Regions from separate parts of the Homo sapiens genome. Here region 1 is linked to region 2. The links are contacts of gene promoters, found by promoter capture Hi-C in blood cells and fetal thymus (Javierre and others, 2016). All regions are on one chromosome and are shown on one strand. The core of a region is centred on a gene start or on the middle of the fragment in contact, and the rest is flanking DNA. Distances in the headings are between cores, read along the strand shown.

What was found. The method cuts DNA at HindIII sites, captures the fragments that hold promoters and counts their contacts. A CHiCAGO score of 5 or more calls a contact.
Region 1: a fragment that was not itself captured here is called in contact with the fragment with the promoter of TMEM71 in region 2 in 1 of 17 cell types (neutrophils); the score reaches 5.1 in neutrophils.

What each region holds. Positions count from the first base shown.
Region 1 is chr8:125,103,522-125,110,497 of GRCh38, reverse strand. All of the region lies in intron 3 of NSMCE2 (NSE2 SUMO ligase component of SMC5/6 complex), which reads right to left. Among named protein-coding and RNA genes, the nearest start is that of NSMCE2, 15 kb to the right of the region's middle. The HindIII fragment of the contact is 5,559 bases long and covers 561-6,119 here.
Region 2 is chr8:132,757,958-132,764,716 of GRCh38, reverse strand. TMEM71 (transmembrane protein 71) reads left to right here and starts at 4,135. Exons shown (of 10, transcript NM_001382403.1): 1 at 4,135-4,241; 2 at 5,802-5,877. The coding sequence starts at 5,838. The HindIII fragment of the contact is 4,740 bases long and covers 1-4,353 here.

The sequences.
Region 1 (6,976 bases), core at 2,091-4,590, 7.7 Mb after region 2:
ATCAAATGAAATAGCACATGTAAAAAGAGCACCAGTTAAGTATGTAACAAATTCATCATCATCACCATACTTTAGCATAGCTCAACAAATACCCAATTAACTGCCTGACCATAGTAACTGTAATCTTTCTGCCCTATAGCTCCGAAATCACAGAAAGAAAAGCAATATATAGAGAAAACTTTAATCCTTTACTTCTAAATGTTGCTATCAAATATTTAGCAAGAATCTGGTAAAACTTTTAATCCTCATGCACATACATTTTTGTAGAATTGCAGAGCATTAACCAAACCTCTGAAGCCCATTCACAGACTTGCCCTGGCAGAGAGGCATGAGAAGAGATGACACATCTTTGAAAACTACAAAGATGTAGTTTACATCTTTGAGGTACATTAACATTTTAGAGAAGGGAGATTCCTCAAATTTACTTAACTAAACCTAAAGCGCTTACTAAAACTACTTAAAGATGATTTAAAAATAATTCCAGTTAATTAGGTCAGTATATTCTGTGTAAGATGGCAGAAAAGTACATAATAAACTCAAAAACCTGAAAAAAATAAGCTTCGGTAATCTCAAAAAAAATCTCCTAATGTAACAAATTTCATTTCCCAGTTAGGTCAAAGAAGAAGGTAATACTAGAATATCGACAAATTTAGAGAAAAATGAATAAACATGGTAGTGGTGAGTCTAATTGCCTAGACACCATATATTCTAACGTAACACAGGCAAAGGTGATCATTTCAAATAAGCTAGAAAGTTGAACAGGGACAAACACCTGGTATAGGAATTAGGAATCTGCAACCAATAAGAAACAAAATAAAACACATCACCACCCTAGTTCTTGGGAGCAAGAATCTCCTTTACCAATAACTTAATAATACAACAACAGGAAAATGTCAGGGCAAAGTGATAAAATGATACCTATGTGATCATTATCATTTGGTTTATCAAAGTTCACTCTGATTTGAGATGAAATCAGGCAACCCAAAAAGTCAACAATCTCATAAAACTAAGGAAAACAGTATTTCTGTTCTGGGATAATCCATGAAATTCCCCACTTGCTCTTCTGCACTTTAATCTCTCCCAATCCATTCTCTGTTGTCCAACACACCCACCGGTCAACTCAAACTCAAATGCACACCAAATTACTAGTAACAGCTAACAATTACTGAGCACTTACTACTATTCTAAGTAATTTGTAAAATATTATCTCGCTAATCCCCACAATAATGCCTTTTATAAATAGGAAACCTGAGGCAAATTGGAGGGTAGAGAATTTGCCCAAGGTCACAAAGATAAGAGAGGGCACTGGGATAAGAACCCAAGCAATCATCTATTACACTATTATGCCTGTATTACAATGAGGGTATAAGATACATAGCACACAAATCAAATCCTTTTTACCTTAGTTACAATACCTTAGTCAAAGTTATTTTCTTTTTCACTTGAGCTACTGACATAATCTCCTCTTTGGCCACCTGAAGTCTTTCCTTCCTCAGTACTGCTGTGGACAGTTATCTTTCTAAAACTGGATCTTACCATATTTTTTCCTCTACTTTAAACCTTCCAATGATAAGGTTCAAACTCCTTGGCAAAGCATCACATTATAGGCCATCAATGTTCACTTAATGATTGAATAACAAGTATATGTCTTATTTCCTACCTAGACTGTAAACAACTCAAAGGAAGAAACCTTTATTTATCTTTGTAGTTTTGGCAACATATCTGATGAATTAGTGACTTAGCTGGACTCAGTCTTACACAGACTTCCAAACTCATCCATCTTTCTTACCCTCTTCACATCACAGGCCCTTCTTCTAAGTTCTGACCCTCAAATTTTACTAATTGCTGGTTGTCATATATGATAGCTATTGAATTAACATTGTGGCTGAGAGCACTTAGCATATATTATCTCATTAGTCCCAACAATCTTATGAAGCAGGCATTTTAATCCTATTTCACAGATAAGAAATTAGAAGCTGAAAGAAGTTAGGTACCTTACTCAAAGTTACAGAACTTATGACAGAGTTAGGACTGGACCCAATAGCAAGCGTGCACTTAAGTGCTGATACTGGCTGCCTTAGTATCAGCCTTCTACAAGTCTTTCATCTACTGTTACAGGCTGATCTACCCTCCAATTTCCTTAAACAACCGGTGTTTTCCTACTCTCTGGGTCCTTGGACAGCACCTCAGTCTGGTATCACATTAACACTGCTCCCCTAACAAGTTCTTGCTGAATTACCCCAGTGGGAGTGATTGCCCTTGGCTTTCTCTCTGCAGAGGACTTCTCATGTCATCTACCTCCTATTCATAAGCAATCAAACTCAGTTTGTTCTCAGTGTGGTCTTCTGAGCCATTTCAGGGGGTCCGTGGGTCAAAACTATTTTCATCGTAATTTCTTCTGGGCCCTTTCAGGGGATCCATGGGTCGAAACTATTTTCATCATAATTTTTTTTATTTTTTTTTTGAGACAGGCTCTGGCCCTGTTGCCCAGGCTGGAGTACAGTCGTGTGATCTCAGCTCATTGCAACCTCTGCCACCTGAGCTTAAGCTGTCCTCCCATCTCAGCCTTCTGAGTAGCTGGGACTACAGGTGTGCACCACCATGCCTGGCTAATTTTTGTATGTTTTGTAGAGACAGGGTTTGCCATGTTGCTGCAGGCTAGTATCAAACTCCTGAGCTCAAGCAATCTGCCCAGGTTGGCCTCCCAAAGTGCTGGGATTATGGGTGTCAGCCACCAGGCCTAGCTTATTTACATCATAATTTTAAGATGCTATTTGTCTGGGTTTGTTTGTTTTTCTTTTTCTTTTTTAACATTTGCACCATTAGTACAAATGTTGAATGTTTGTACTAATGGTGCAAAAGCAATTGTGGAAAAAACTGCTGGTGCCTTAGCAAAAATCAGAGCAGTGGCACCAAACTGTTGCACTCTAATAGATCATTGTATTCCTCTCTACCAAGCACTCATAGTAAAACAAATGCTAGTTTCATTTAAGAATGTCCTTGATAGGCCAGGCCTGGTGGCTCATGCCTGTAATCCCAGCACTTTGGGAGGTCGAGGAGGGTGGATCACGAGGTCAGGAGTTCAAGACCACCCTGGACAACATGGTGAAACCCCGTCTCCACTAAAGATACAAAAATTAGCCGGGCATGGTGGTGTGCACCTGTAATCCGAGCTACTCAGGACTCAGGAGGCTGAGGCAGGAGAATAGCTTGAACCCAAGAGGCGGAGGTTGCAGTGAGCCAAGATCGTGCCACTGCACTATAGCCTGGGACAGAGCAAGACTCCATCTCAAAAAAAAAAAAAAAAAAGAATGTCCTTGATAAAACAGTACAATATAGAACAATTCACAGACAAACTATGGTTATTCAGGTTTGGGTATCTGAAAGACATTTTCTCAAAAATGAAGAAAGTGAGCCTGTGCAACTGTAATTTCAAAGACAACAACTAACAGCATTTGTTGCTAATGGTAAAATGAAAGTTTTTTTTTGTTGTTTTTTTTTTGAGACAGAATTTTGCCCTTTCACTTAGGCTGGAGTGCAGTGGCGTGATCTCGGCTCACTGCAACCTCCGCCCCCAGGGTTCAAGCGATTCTCCTGCCTCAGCCTCCCGAGTAGCCGGGATTATAGGCGCCCACCACCACGCTCAGGTAATTTTTGTATTTTTAGTAGAGACAGGTTTTCGTCATGTTAGCCAGGCTGGTCTCCAACTCCTGAACTCAGGTGATCCTCCAGCCTCGGCTTCCTAAAGTGCTAGGATTACAAGTGTGAGCCACAGCACCCGGCCAAAATGAAAGTTGTTTGTTTTTTTTTTTTGAGATGGAGTCTTGCTCTGTCGCCCAGGCTGGAGTGCAGTGGCCTGATCTCTGCTCACTGCAACCTCCGCCTCCCAGGTTCAAGCTATTCTCCTGCCTCAGCCTCCTGAGTCCTGAGTAGCTCGGATTACAGGTGCGCACCACCACGCCCGGCTAATTTTTGTATTTTTAGTAGAGATGGGGTTTCACCAAGTTGGTCAGGCTGGTCTCAAACTCCTGACCTCGTGATCCACCTGCCTCAGCCTCCCAAAGTGCTGGGATTACAGACATGAGCCACCACACTCAGCCCAAAGTGAAAGTTTTAAAGAAAAAATTAGAACTTTGAAAAATTTGTGTTCACCATTATAAATTTGAGAGCGTATGACTTTTCTGATAAGATCAGTGGTGATATTAGTTATTTGCAGCTTTATAACATCTTTTCTGTTTTCTCATTGTTTTAGTATTTTAATATGTGTTTGTCTTCCCACTAAGATGGTAAACTCTATGAAGGGAAGAACTACTTAATACTTGTTTATGTCCTCTTTAAAACCTAGAGCTGAATTATATGCAGAATAGTCACTTGGTTAGTTTATGTTGACTACTTTGTTATTTTGACTCCTGGTATTAGTTAAAATGTGTGTGTGTGTGTGTGTGTGTGTATGCACACACACACGCATGTATTCATATACATATTGAGTTCATAAGAAGTCCAGGCTCCTGGTGACTCTGTGTCTGTCTAAGTTGTTTAGTTCACTTTTTTTCCCATATAACTTGCTCAAAATTTTTCTTAAATTAACTTTTTTGGTAAATGCAAAATCAAGTATTTGCTGTAAAATTAATCCAAATATTAAAAAATAAATACATCTTTCTTTTAAAAATTACTTAATGACAATCTGCGGCACTAAAGCAGGGGTTGACAAACTAAGACCTGTGAGCCAAATCCGGCCCACTGCCCATTTTTGTAAATAAAGTTTTATAAGACCACAGCCATGCCCATTCATTTACGTACCATCTATGGTGGGTTTTGCACTACAACAGCGGGTTGTGACAGAAACCACATGGCCTACAGAGTTGAAAATATTTGTTATCTGGCCCTTTATAGAAAAACTTTGCCAACTTTGGCTTTAGAGCATGAACCTTTCAAAAAATGATGTTTATAATTCTTCTTAAATTGCACATGTTGTATTTTACAACAAAATATACCTCTTATTTAAAACAAAACAAAACCAAGAGAAAAAAAAAACTCTGTAGCTAAAACTCCCAGGAATCTTCAAAAAGAATCCTGAAAAAAACTGATACAATCTCCCAAGGGGTTATGTTCCAGTCTTCTCTCTTATGGTTTAAGATTTTATTATGACTTTTATCCAGGCCTATCTATCAAAGCTAAATTATGATCACCAAAAACATAATCAAAAACAGACTGGGTAGGGTTAAAACATTTGGAGGCCACCCACTAAAAAGATTATGAGTGACACCTGCTGTTAGCCGTAAATGAATAACTGTATGGAGCTGGTCCACCTGCCATGAATGACTGAAAAACTAAACAAAATATATGAAACAATAGCTGTGGGACAGTAGGACAAAGGCGGGACAGGACTGTAATTACTGCAATAAGGGAAAACTGGGAAAAGTCTTGCAATGGCCTCCTCCCTGCGCAAGGGAGGAGGAATCCAAGGGAGTTTTTGAGACAGAGTCTCACTCTCTTCCCCAGGCTGGAGTACAGTGGCACAATCTCGGCTCACTGCAACCCCCTTCTCCCATGTTCAGGCAATTCTCCTGCCTCAGCCTCCCCAGTAGCTGGGACTACTGGCATCCTCCACCATGCCTAATTTTTGTTTTTTAGTAGAGACAGGGTTTCGTCAGGTTGGCCTGGAACTCCTGACCTCAGGAGATCCTCCTGCTTCGGCCTCCCAAAGTGTTGGGATTACAGGTAGGAGCCACCATGCTCGGCCTAGCACAGCAGTCTTGAAGGATTGAGGAGACAGAGACTTCAGTTCAGGGAGGCTGAGGCAGCCAGCAGGGTTTGCAAGAGAGTGAGGGAGCTATGCAGATAAAGAGCTCTAGGAATCTGCACTGGGGTCCCCTTGAGTCTGATGCTGAGTCCTAAGATGCTGAGCAACAAATACTGACAGCTATAAAGTGAACAACTCCCAGGTTCAGTCACGTAGGACCTAGGACCGGGAGACACTCAAATTCCATCCAGCCAGAGTAGAGCTATCGCACTGAACCCTCGGGGCAATCAAGAGAGACTCCAGAAGGGCCATGCTTTGTAACAAGGCTAAATTAGCCCTAACATAAAGGCTATATTAGACTTGACCTAACAAAGCTTAACGATAAGCCTAGAAAGGATCAGCCTAATCCACAATCACTTAGCTGCACACCAAACAAACTCCAACACTATTTAAAAGAGGACAACAAGCTGGGCATGGAGGCTCATGCCTGTAATTCCAAGATTTTGGAAGGCCAAGGCAGGCGGATTACCTGAGGTTGGGAGTTTGAGACCAGCCTGACCAACATGAAGAAACTCCGTCTCTACTAAAATTACAAAATTAGCTGGGCGTGGTGGCGCATGCCTGTAACCCCAGCTACTCCGAAGGCTGAGGCAGGAGAATCGCTTGAACCCGGGAGGCGGAGGTTGCAGTGAGCCGAGATCGCACCATTGCACTCCAGCCTGGGCAACAAGAGCAAAATTCCGGCTGAAAAAAAAAAAAAAAAGACAACAAAATCCAAACACTCAACAACATAATACACATAGAGATGACAGAATTAACATACAAGGATATTAAAATAGCTATTATAAACATGCTCCATATACTCAAGAATGTAGAGGAAAATATGGACACAATGAAGAAAGAAATGGAAGACTAAAAAAAAAGATTCTACTTAATTCTTTGTTATGTCTTCAACAATTAAAAATACAGTAACTGAAATTTTTAAATTCACTAAATGGAATTATCAGATTAGACACTGCAGTAGACAAGATGAATGAACTTAGCAATAGAAATTATTCAAATTGAAGCTAAAGAGTAAAAAGACTGGAAAAAATCTATCAAGTTCCACTGATTTATGGGACAATATCAACCCATCTAACATACATGAAATGTGAGTCACACAGAAGGAGAGGAGAGCAGAGGAATTAAAAAAATATATTTGAAGAAATAGTAGCAGAAATTTTTCCAAATTTG
Region 2 (6,759 bases), core at 2,886-5,385:
GGGAGGGTCAGAGAGGCTGCTCAGAGAAAAAGCTCTTTCAGAAAGAGATGGGAGATGAAGAAAATAGCACATTCCAAGGGCCTGAGGTGGAGCAAAGCTAGAGAAGCTGAAAGGAAGCCAGCATGGTTGAATTCTAAAAAGACAGATGGGGCCTGTTGAGGGAACAATGAGGCTGAAAAATAGTCAAGTCCAGACCCTACCAGGCCTGGCAGGCCATGAAGAGGATTTTGAACTTCACAGGAGAGAGGAGCAAGGGCAAGCACTGATGAATTTAATCAGGGGAGTGACATAATCAGATATTCTATTGGAGAGGTCATTCTGACCATGGCTTGGGGAGTGTATTGGAGAGAGGCCAAGTGACTTTGGCATGTTGGCATGGAAGTCCAGGCAACAAGTGCAATACACACACACACACACACACACACACAACCTCCCAGTTCATATTTTTCATTATGTAATGTACCTTATTGATAGCTATTATTATATGGCTTATGCATACTGATTTGATGTAGCTGGAGCCCTAGAGCAGATAGTGGAGATGGAGACTTAGATGATAAGCCTAAGAGCTACATGAAGAGGAATCAAGATTTCAAGTCCGTGTTCAAAAGCTACATGGAGAGGAGTCGCAATTTCTCCCAGTTTTCTGGCATGAGTGATTGGGTGGAAGATATTGCCATCTAATGGGACACAGTGTTCCAGAGCAGGATGAGGCTTGGGTAGGAAGAGAGATCATGAGTACATGAGGGATTTAAGGAAGCATGCAGACATGTTTGTTCGTTGTTTGTAGTGTGTTAAAATTAAATTTGTCAAGTCCATCAATTTATGTCAGCATTTCCTAACATGAGTTCTTTAGCATTCCGCCTGTCAAAGAGTATCTTAGGGACTAACAGTTTTGGCTTTACGTGGGAGCTGATATGAAACACTGTCTCCAATTCCCTCACTTCTGTAAGATCCTCTGTGATTCATTTGCAACACATGAACGTTTGCAACACATAGCTCTGGAACTGGGGTCTTGGGAGATATTATGTGACCAAAAGATTCTCAAGGCAAATAATTTTGACAGATGGTGAGACCATGTTTCCTGTGTATAGTAGCAAGTCCGAGTATCATTTAAAAGATTCTATAGTGACCTCTATTAGAGACCTATGCTTTCTAGAACTTTTTGTACTGAAATTTGCCACTCGTCTTTTCCCCATCCACACGCATCACCTCCATTAACAGTGGAGGACTGAATATTCTGTGGAACATGCTTTTAGAAACATTGATTTATAACATGCAGAATAAAGGTTCTGAAGGCAAGTCTACCTGGATGTAATTAATTTATTTGTTAATTCCACAAACATTAATTGATAACCTACTATATGGGAAGCACTACTCTTGATACTTGGGCTATTAAAATGAAGCAAAATGACAATATTCTCTGCTCTTTTAATGCTCATGTTCTGGCTGAGGAGTACGTTTCTTATTACAAGGAATGAATTGTGTGACATATTCCTTGGTAAAAAGTGCTAAGGAGAAGAATAAAGCAGGAAGAGACTAGGGAGTGGTGTGGAGGGCAATTAATTAGTAGCAAGGCAGTGGAGAAAAGAGCTGAGGGAGGGGAGGAAGAAAGCCCTGTGACCCTTAGGGTGAGGGAACACTAACCTCAAAGATCTTGAAGTAGACCCGTGTCTAGTGTATGAGAAACAAGAAGAAGATGAGTGGGTCTCAAGAGAGAAGATTGAGAGGGGAACCATAGGTTTGGAATTTAGTTCTGGCCATTGGCAATTTTGAAAGATTTATGCAAACTCTATAAACCTCTGTCCTGCATGTGGATAACAATTGCACTTATTTTCTAGGGCTACGTGAGGTTGAAACAAGATTACATATGTACAGTGTTTAGTGCAGTGCCTGGTTTGTAGAAAATGCTGACACACGTTGGATATGATCATTACACTTATAGGTTAAGAAAGCAAACTCGAGAGCCATCTCATCAGGGTTTGAATCCTAGCTCTACTTACTCATCACGTACTGGCTATGTGAATTTGGGCAACTCTCTAAACTCAGTTTGCTCTTCTGTAAAATGAGAATAATAATACAGCATCTCCCATGGAATTGATGTAACAATTAATGTGTTGATATGTGGAAAGACCTTAGAACAGTGCCTGGTACATAGTAAGCACTCCTTAAAGTTAGCAATTATTATGATCATTAATAATAAGGTTCTAATATGTGCCAGATCTTTAAAAAAAAAAAAAGTAGACCAAAGTCTTTCTGATGTGAGCTCTTCGGAAAAGTGGATTTGTGGGCACAGGAAGAGCAGAGGGTCTCGAATAAGTCAGAAAGATTTTCCTCCCTCATCTAGAAGAGATAAGCCAAGGCTGGAAGAGGGAGGATGAGGGATAAGAAAAACAGGAAAAGGAGAAGAAGAGAACTGTGAATTCCAGTAAAGAGAATACCAGACAGCTGTGAAGCAGAATAGCTGTCTGTTAAATTTAGGCAGATGTGACCAGGAGTAGCCTTGAGTAAATGTGACTATATTCTACAGGAGTCACTAAAGCAGCAGAGAGTCAGCAATGACAGATGGCTCAGGAAGTGACCTGTGTTAGGACTATGCATCTGCTATGTGTTGCTGTGTAACAAATTACCTCAAAACGTGGTGGCTTGAAATACCATTTGTCACTTCCCAGTTTGCGTGGGCCAGGGAGCTGGGCAGGGCTAGCCTGGGTTGTCTGCTTCTGGGTCTTTCCCAGTTCCAATCGAGCATTAGATGGGGCTGCAGTCAGCTCAAGGCTCAACTGGAGAAGGATCCACTTCCAAGCTCACACACTTGGTTTTTGGCTGGATTCCTGGCTGTTGGATGGAGCATCAGACCCTTACTGGCTTTTGAGACCACTCTTGATTCCTTGACACATGGGCTTCTCCACCATGGCAGCTTGCTTCATCAAAGCAGGCAAGCAAGAAAGTAATAGAGTCCAACAAGATGGAAGCCTCATCATGGTAGTGGAAACTCAGCACCTTTGCCTTACTTTATTTACAAGGAGCATGTCAGCAGCCTCAGTCTACACTCAAGGGATGGAGAATAGACATGAAGTTCCAGAGACAGAGAACTTTGAAATTAGATGGGCCCTCCTCCTGACAGTTCCTGCTGCCTAGAACATGTTCTACAGAAGATCCTGCCATGTGGCAGAACCTCAGGGGGAAAGGGAACCCCAGGAAAGGATGAGATTAACTTTTCCGCCAGCCGGACCAACTGGTGCCTCAGAAGAGAACTTGATTTAAGAAAACAAATAAAGAATACACCTTGCACATCTGTGCTGAGGACTCGATTATTTCTCATTTCTTTTATTTCATTTAATTCTTCAAGCCATCATATGACATATATATTTTTATGTTTATAATTGAGAAAACTGCAACTCAGAGGGGTAAGTCACAAATCTGAGGTCACACAGCTAGGATGGTAGACAGGTTGAATTTCTGTCTTGTGACCCCAGAATCCGCACTCTTTCCACTATGCAGTGGTACCTCAATGTTGCTGGAATATATATTTGAATGTACATTTCTTTTATCACTTACAGTAGTACAGATGTGTATGAACCCATAAACACCATCAAGTCTTTGAGCTCTACTATAATGTAAATGTAAAATGCCATCTATAGAGTTTTTTGTGAAGTCCAACCTTCATTAGATAAACCTATTGCCTCTATAGAAATTTTCATAAGATCAAGCTCTTGCTATTTAATAGTATTCTGAATTTAATAGCATCAGTGCATTATCCTCAATAAATTTAAGTGATTTGGACAAAGATCACTACTCTGCACTACTTATAACTGAATGTGGCCATATGATGAGCAAGAAATGTCAGTTCGCTGAGTCTTTCTCACGTTCTCGCAGCCAAAGGTGACAAGTTAGCTCAGAAAACCACCCCTCCAGTGACCAGGGTGTAACCAGCTGGCCTGACACATGGGCTGCACATTCCCTGCTGCTGGCCCAGGAAACTCTCTGAAATCTTCAGCACACTCCTCAGTGTGAATGCCACTGATGTGAGCCCAACAGGAAGTGTGACCTCATTCTGCTTCTTTGCCTCTGGTTACGCAGGCTGTTTTCAAAAGAAAACAAGAGAAGTTGTAAGACTGACTTTCCCAAGAACTATACACTCATTTATACCAGGAAACAGACAAGAGAACAAGAGGCTGCCGAAGACAAAACTTCTCTGCAAGCACCTGTGCACAGCAATGTGCGTGGGCATCTGTGAGAAGAAGGTAGGGTGGGATTCCCTTTATTAAGAGACTTCTGCACCTGTTGACATTCAGACATTTTTCAGCCGAGGAACTGCTCAGTCCTCAATTTTTCCACTGTCAACCACAGGAAGCTTCGTATTTCAGTAATAATTTTGTCCTTTGTCAATTGGAAGAAGAGGCTGGGAACTCCCTTTGGAAGGAACACGTATGCACACATTATTTTTCAGAATAGATGTGTCGCTTTGATGGAACTGGCAGATTCTGTTTCTTGAAAAGTTTTAGATCTGTAACTGAAGGGCTTTTTTTTTTCCTACTGTTACTAATTTTCTATTGAATGTCAGTGTACTGCCTGTAGATTCTTCTAAGCACTTGTGAGATAGAGCAATAAGACCTTCTTTTGCTGCAGGATTTATAGGCTTAAAATTAAGCTTAATACTTGGGGAACACTAAAATAAGGTAATTTGGGCTGGGCATACCCGTACAATATTGATCAAAAATGAAAAGAACAAGTAACATACTAATATATTACATTACACTGGGATTATTTTATATCCCAAACAAATGAAATTTGTAAATGTGTGCTTTGATTTAGAAATCTTCCAAGGAAGGCCAGAAAGTTCTCCTGACATCTTTACAGGTCTCTATAAACCAGGTTTATATTTTCCTAATAGGGTTTATATATAATTTATTGAAATATTCAACTTGAAGCTGTAGAATTAGCCTGGTTTGATTGATTGAATTACAGCTACAAAAACAATCCATTACTAGTTCTCATGTTACAAAATGTGGCCATAAGTGGTGAATCAGAAAATAATTTACTCCTACCTTATAAAGCGATTAGGATAGTGATACTATATACAAAGTTTCATAGTCAACAGAAGTTGGTTCTATTTGATGAACAGTAAATGATCAAAGTTTGCATAATTTACATACTTTGATATGTTTTTAATTAGTAATTGAGAAATTAAATCATGTCTTCATGGGAACTAAGTTCTAAAATCTTCCCAATGGTATGCTATCTTTAGTGCAACATTACTTATGCTGTTTAGGAATGTCCAGGCTGATAAAAACTATTAAAATCACTCTCTGTGACTACCTGTCAATGGTTCAAGTTGTTGGGAAAAAGACAGACACCAATCTCCAAGCACTGTTTGAAACTTGATAATGAAGTTGACTTGTGTCAGATGATTAAAATACACGTAAGTTTGTTTTGGGGCTAAATGACTGTTAGAACCAGTCATTTTATTAAGATTTCTTAATCAAATACCTCACTTTCATTATTTTCTTTGGATTACAAATCAACCTTTTTAAGTCTAGATTTTCCAAATAAAGTGTGGTTCTTATTTACAGAAAAATGTTATTGAGATGCACTGAGTGAGGCAATGGAAAATGTTCAGTCATAGAGGCAGACACAACTTTAGAGGGGTTGTGTCTTCAGTCTGGTCTCCTACCTTCAATTCTGTATCTCTGTATTATTTCAGTAAACAAATCTGACTAGTGCAATTAGTAGATGCCATCTGTTTTGGCATAATTTTTCTATTTTTAATATATAGTCCACCTTTTTTTTAACATCTTTTGCAGAGAATCTGTGAAGTTTGAGCAAGCGGCCTTCCCAAGATGTACCGAATATCTCAACTGATGTCAACACCAGTAGCAAGTAAATGTAGAAGAACTGTGATACGCAATTATCTTTTGAACGATTAGACTCCTTTTAGCAATTTCCTTGCTTTGATTTTGCTGATACTCAGACCATTAACCATCTGTCAGTAGCTTGTGCTTCTTAAATGCCAGTGTTCACTTTGGCAATGATTTTAACTTCATTTTTTTCCTTGAAAGAAATGTGGTATTTTTCCTTCTAGTAGAAAAAAAAAAATCACCGTTTTTTTTTAGATGCCTGTGCATAAATGTGAAAGGAGATTGTTTATCAGCTACTATTAAGATGCAAAACTGTTTGTATATAAAAAATGCTGAATGATTTTGATAGCTACTTGCAGAAAATAAGAGCGCTGTTAAAACGGTAGTGGTTTCAAGTTTCTTCCTTCCTCTTGTTATTTTCTCCCAAAACCCCACTTCTAACTCTCCCTCACACACCCACAGTTTTCTCCCTACAAATCAACCAGCCCAATCTGAAAGTCTAAATTCCTTTCTTTGTCCTAGATACTAATTGTCCATAATGGAATCAAATTTCACTAGCTTGTCTGTTAGGACTATTGACACCATCTCTGCACACGATAAAATTCTGCTTTAGAGTTTAGAATATTAATCAACTCCAACTTTCTCCAAGTAAAGTCTGTTGCCACGCCTTTGGTTAAAATGGAACGAATGAATGGATGATGTTTCTATAATTAAGAATACTCACAGTCTTTATACTTTGGAAAAATGTTATATAAAACAAAACAAAACTTTATTTCTTCCCCACTAATGTCTTTTGCTCATTATTTTACAGTAGAAGTGTCTTAATATGCACTAATGAGGGAGAGTCTAGAACAATGATTGAATTCCTCAGATTACTGAGTAAGCTGCAATAACCAACACATTG